2 separate regions of the Homo sapiens genome follow, and region 2 is linked to region 1. Evidence: promoter capture Hi-C in 16 types of primary human blood cells and fetal thymus (Javierre and others, 2016). All regions are on one chromosome and are shown on one strand. Each heading gives the region's core, a stretch centred on a gene start or on the middle of the fragment in contact. The rest is flanking DNA. Distances are from core to core; before and after follow the strand shown.

Region 1 (3,083 bases), core at 238-2,737:
CCCCTCTCTCAGTCTCTCCCCTTGGCACCAAAACCCAAATATCTTTCACCCCTGCACCTACTGTACCCACCCACTGGCTCTCGTTCTGGTCTTAGCCTCCCTCCCAACTGGCTTCTAGATGCATCTGCTGCCCCAAGCCTGCCCACCACCACCTGCCCTTCCTTCCGATGCCCTTTTCATGCCTGAGGCCAGACTCTCAGCTGTTTCCCCTCCAACCCGAGCCAATATGTCAACACTTGGGGCTTCAGGTTGGGGCTTAGGAGGCCCCATGTCGGGAGGGCAGGAAGGATGAGGGCCTGGCCCCAGCCCAGGTTCTGGCTCACAGGCTCCTGCTGCCCTGGGTCTTCGGCCCCTCCCCGTGGCTGCCTCAACCGGCTTTTCAGGAGACACTGCGTCCTGTTCCAGCTCGTGGCAATCAGCCCCCTGCCCTTGCCCAAGGGCTGGGAGGCAGGAGGTCTGGGTTCTGCGACAGGAATGGGATCCTGCCTCCAAAATCTGCGGCACTCCACAAGGGACTCTATGCTGCCCTGGCGACCCAGGCGCCCTTCCCTCCAGCACCCTGTGAGACCCAGACTCGGGCTCGGAGTCTCTTTCCTTGGCCTGTTCGAATCCATCCATTTGTCCAGTCAATAAATATTTACTGAACCCCAGGCAGTGTTCAAGAAGCTAGGAATACAGCAGTGATCAACACGACCAATTTACATTGCTAGTAGGTGAGACAGGCAATAAAAAATAAAGGTAATTTCAGATTTTTTTTTTCTGTGAAAACAAAAGGGTGATACTACAGAGTATAATTAATGCCATGTTATGGTCAGGAGAGGTTTTCTTGCGAAGTTGGCATTTAAGTCAAGTACGGATGAGGAGGAGCCAGCCACGTGAAGATCTGGGTTCTGCATTCCAGGCAGAGAGAGGAGCATGTGCAAAGGCCCTGCAGCAGGAATGAGCTTGGTGTGTTTGTGGAACAGGGAGAAGGCCTGTGTGGCTGGAATGGAATGAGTGAGGGCAGGGGCTGGCCCACAAGAACGAGGTCTGATGACTCCTTCATCCCACCTAGTGTTCTCCCCTCTCCAGACGGTGCCTCCCATCATTCTAGCCCCTCACTGCCTGGGGAGCTGGAGGCTTAGATGCCTGAGAGGAGTGAGGTGTTGAAGAATTGCCTGCATCCCAGGGATGGAGCATGGTGGAAGGTGGGTTTGCGAGAGAGGAGGCCTGGACAGTGGGTGAGGAATGAAAGAGGAGGTGGTTGGAAGGGCAGACACCCATCTCTGGGGTGGAGGGCAAGGAGCAAAGATGCCAGAGTTCTTCTCCATCCATGACTCACCCTCTCTTCCTCCTCCTCTCCATTGCTCAACTCCAAATCTCCCTGGGAAACACCTCCTTGACTGAAGACCAACTCAGTGCCTCACAGGGGTAATTGAGTCATGAGGGGTGGAGAAGAGGGCGAGAGGGAGAGAGGATAAATAGCAGCGTGGCTTCCCTGGCTCCTCTCTGCATCCTTCCCGACCTTCCCAGCAATATGCATCTTGCACGTCTGGTCGGCTCCTGCTCCCTCCTTCTGCTACTGGGGGCCCTGTCTGGATGGGCGGCCAGCGATGACCCCATTGAGAAGGTCATTGAAGGGATCAACCGAGGGCTGAGCAATGCAGAGAGAGAGGTGGGCAAGGCCCTGGATGGCATCAACAGTGGAATCACGCATGCCGGAAGGGAAGTGGAGAAGGTTTTCAACGGACTTAGCAACATGGGGAGCCACACCGGCAAGGAGTTGGACAAAGGCGTCCAGGGGCTCAACCACGGCATGGACAAGGTTGCCCATGAGATCAACCATGGTATTGGACAAGCAGGAAAGGAAGCAGAGAAGCTTGGCCATGGGGTCAACAACGCTGCTGGACAGGTTGGGAAGGAGGCAGACAAACTGATCCATCATGGGGTCCATCACGGGGCCAACCAGGCGGGAAGTGAGGCAGGGAAGTTTGGCCAGGGAGTCGACAATGCTGCAGGGCAGGCTGGAAATGAGGCTGGGAGGTTTGGCCAGGGAGTCCACCATGCTGCAGGGCAGGCCGGAAATGAGGCTGGGAGGTTTGGCCAGGGAGTCCACCATGCTGCAGGGCAGGCCGGAAATGAGGCTGGGAGATTTGGCCAGGGGGCCCACCATGGTCTCAGTGAGGGCTGGAAGGAGACAGAGAAGTTTGGCCAGGGGATCCACCATGCTGCCGGTCAGGTTGGGAAGGAGGCAGAGAAGTTTGGCCAGGGGGCCCACCATGCTGCGGGGCAGGCCGGAAATGAGGCAGGGAGATTTGGCCAGGGGGTCCACCATGGTCTCAGTGAGGGCTGGAAGGAGACAGAGAAGTTTGGCCAGGGGGTCCACCATACTGCTGGTCAGGTTGGGAAGGAGGCAGAGAAGTTTGGCCAGGGGGCCCACCATGCTGCGGGGCAGGCCGGAAATGAGGCAGGGAGATTTGGCCAGGGGGCCCACCATGCTGCGGGGCAGGCCGGAAATGAGGCTGGGAGGTTTGGCCAGGGGGTCCACCATGGTCTCAGTGAGGGCTGGAAGGAGACAGAGAAGTTTGGCCAGGGGGTCCACCATGCTGCCAGTCAGTTTGGGAAGGAAACAGAGAAGCTCGGCCATGGGGTCCACCATGGGGTTAATGAGGCCTGGAAGGAAGCAGAGAAGTTTGGCCAGGGTGTCCACCATGCTGCCTCGCAGGTGGGGAAGGAGGAAGACAGAGTGGTCCAAGGCCTCCATCATGGCGTTAGTCAGGCTGGAAGGGAGGCGGGGCAGTTTGGCCACGACATTCACCACACAGCAGGGCAGGCTGGGAAAGAGGGAGACATAGCAGTTCATGGTGTCCAACCTGGGGTCCACGAGGCCGGGAAGGAGGCAGGGCAGTTTGGCCAGGGAGTTCACCATACCCTTGAACAGGCCGGGAAGGAAGCAGACAAAGCGGTCCAAGGGTTCCACACTGGGGTCCACCAGGCTGGGAAGGAAGCAGAGAAACTTGGCCAAGGGGTCAACCATGCTGCTGACCAGGCTGGAAAGGAAGTGGAGAAGCTTGGCCAAGGTGCCCACCATGCTGCTGGCCAGG
Region 2 (3,083 bases), core at 173-2,672, 120 kb after region 1:
CACCACGCCCAGCTAATTTTTATATTGTTAGTAGAGATGGGGTTTTGCCATGTTGGCCAGGCTGGTCTTGAACTCCTGGCCTCAGGTGATCTGCCTGCCTCAGCCTCCCAAAGTGCTGGAATTACAGGCATGAGCCACCATGCCCGGCACACCCCTCCCTCTTATCACTGTGTCCCACCCCTAGGAGCAGGACTTCCCCAAGGTCATTGAGAGTAACATTGTAAATGGTGGCATCTTGAGCCCATCTTTAGGAGAAAGGTCTCCCATAAGTTTACAGAAATCAAGTGACCTAACGTCACATCACAGTCCCTTTCTGGTGGACACTCACTCTCCCCACCATTAACCTGAAAACCGGAGAGGGCTGAAGGAGCCTTGCCGGTAACCTTCAAACTTCCATTCCTCGCTTAACACAATGCCTCAGGAACCATTTATTTACCGGGAGGTGCAATGGAACTAGTTGAATCGCCCTAGCTTATATTAACTAGGTGCTATCAAGTAGTCTAACAGTAAAATTGAGGCTTTCACAAAGGCTTTGTGAATTCCCCCGTTCAAAATAAAACACACTAAGCCTGTTTATAACTTTTGCCCTGAAAATCTTTCTTTAATCTTTGCTGACAGGAATTAAATATGCACTTTCCCTAGGATGACATAGGACAAATATAATTAGTATTATGCTTTCCTTCTCCCCCAGTTCCTATAGCCTCTAAGATTGGAAATCCTACATATAGTTTGGGTTAATATTCCACCTAATTGTAGATGAAGTAATCCTTCCCCATAAAACAAGAAGAAAAACTCCAATTTAAACAATCCTTAGGCCAGGCGCGGTGGCTCAAACCTGTAATTCTAGCACTTTGAGAGGCTGAGGTTGATGAATCACTTGAGGCCAGGAGTTCAAGACCAGCCTGGCCAACATGGTGAAACCCCATCTCTACTAAAAATACAAACATTTGCCAGGTGTGGTGGCGCATGCCTGTAATCCCAGCAACTCGGGAAGCTGAGGCATAAGAATTGCTTGAGCCTGGGAGGCGGAGGTTGCAGTGAGCCAAGCTCATGCCACTGCACTGCAGCAGTCTGGGTTACAGAGCGAGACTCTGTCTCAAAAAAAAAAAAAAAAAAAAAAAAAAAGCATCTTTAGAACAGGAACTAACATAACATGGTGAATACAGGTCTGTGCGGCGCAATTACATCCCATCCATCTGAGCCGGCTTTGTTACTTCTTTATCTCCTCATGGAATAGTTCTGATTGTTAAGTATCATATTTAATATCTCAACAAGCTTTGCATTTTATCAGGCAAACTTTAAACTCACTTTGAGAGGTTAAGTGGCATTAGACTTTATGAAATTTCGAATCATTAAAGACACATCAGGTAGCAGAAGGTTTTATATGTGCACAATTGCACTTAGCAGAGTAATCCTGTCTGTCATCTCACCAGGTCAGCAATTCTCAAACTTGTGGATCTCAAGGTCGGTTTATACTCTTGAAAATTACTGAAGGGATGGGTGTGGTGGCTCACCCCTCTAATCCCAACACTTTGGGAGGCTGAGGCAGGTGGATTGCTTTAAGCTTAGGAGTTTGAGACCAACCCGGGCAACATGGCAAAACCCCATCTCCACAAAAAATACAAGAATTAGCTGAGCATGGTGGCGTGCACCTGTAGTTCCAGCTACTTGGGAGGCTGAGGTGGGAGGGTTGCTTGAGCCTGGGAAGACGAGGCTGCAGTGAGTTGTGTTCATGCCACTGCACTCACCCTGGGTGGCAGAGTGAGACACTGTCTCGAAAAAAAAAAGAAAAAAGAAAAAAAAGGAAAGAAAAGCAAAAATGAAAATTCCTGCCAGGCGTGGTGGCTCATATCTATAATCCTAGGACCTTGGGAGACTGAGGTGGGCAGATCATGAGGTCAGGAGTGCGAGACCAGCCTGACCAACATGGTGAAACCCTGTCTCTACTAAAAATACAAAAATTAGCCGGGCATGGTGGCTTGTGCCTGTAATCTCAGCTACTTGGGAGGCTGAGGCAGGAGAATCGCTTGAAGCCAGGAGGCAGAGGTTGCGGTGAGCCGAGATCACACCACTGTACTCCAGCCTTGGCAACAAGAGTGAAACTGCGTATCAAAAAAAACAAAAAAAAAAAACAAAAAAAAAACAAAGTTAAAACAGAAAAATTTAAAAATGTGTATTAACTTATCTTATAATAATAATAACCATAAAACCATTACATGTTAATATAAATGACACGTTCCTAGAAAAAACAACTATATCTTCAAAAAATTCGTGACAGTGGCATTGTTTTACATTTTTGCAGATCTCTTTAATGCCTGGCTTAATAGAAGACAGCTGTATTTTCCTATCTGGTCTGCATTCATTCCGTCATGATATCACGTCACGTAGCTCTCAAAACCTCCACTGTGCACATTATTTGTGAGATAATGAAGGTGAAGAGAGCAATCAGCATTTTAATAGCATTATGAATAGTTTTGACCTCACAGACAGTGCTTTGAAAACTGCTGCCCTAGATTCACATAGTTCGAAGCTACTTGGGTTGGGTTTTCCTTGATGTGTGGTATTAAAGGGAAGAAGGAAGGGAGGGAGGGAGTAACTCATTGAGGAACTCCTACCATCTTACAGTGTTTAAAATAACCACTAAATAATGGAAACAGAACATACAGTTTCCAAGTCAGTGGAGGAATAAATGAAATGAGAAAGAAAAGAAATAAACGAACTGAATCTCAAAAGAAGGCTAGAGAGAAGAAAAAAAGAAATATTAAAAGGTGAGGGATGGCTTGGCAAGGTGGCTCACACCTGTAATACCAGCACTTTGGGAGGCCGAGGTGGTTGGATCACCTAAGGTCAGCAGTTCAAGACCAGCTTGGTCAACATGGTGAAACCCCGTCTTTAATAAAAATGCCAAAATTAGCCAGGCATAGTGGCACACACCTGTAATCCAAGCTACTTGGGAGGCTGAGGCACGAGAATTGCTTGAACCCAGGAGGTGGAGGTTGCAGTGAGCTGAGATCATGCCGTTGACTTCAGCCTGGGCAACAGAGTGAGACTGTGTCTGAAAATAAAATAAAATAGAATAAAAT

The links. The method cuts DNA at HindIII sites, captures the fragments that hold promoters and counts their contacts. A CHiCAGO score of 5 or more calls a contact.
Region 2: a fragment that was not itself captured here is called in contact with the fragment with the promoter of SBSN in region 1 in 4 of 17 cell types (M2 macrophages, M1 macrophages, M0 macrophages and 1 more); the score reaches 6.0 in M2 macrophages.

The regions. Positions count from the first base shown.
Region 1 is chr19:35,526,715-35,529,797 of GRCh38, reverse strand. SBSN (suprabasin) reads left to right here and starts at 1,487. Exons shown (of 4, transcript NM_001166034.2): 1 at 1,487-3,083. The coding sequence starts at 1,517. RefSeq lists enhancers at 336-836, 2,282-2,783. The HindIII fragment of the contact is 2,098 bases long and covers 1-1,860 here.
Region 2 is chr19:35,411,134-35,414,216 of GRCh38, reverse strand. LINC01531 (long intergenic non-protein coding RNA 1531) reads right to left here. Exons shown (of 5, transcript NR_040046.1): 4 at 2,935-3,055. Among named protein-coding and RNA genes, the nearest start is that of LINC01531, 7.1 kb to the right of the region's middle. The HindIII fragment of the contact is 289 bases long and covers 1,278-1,566 here.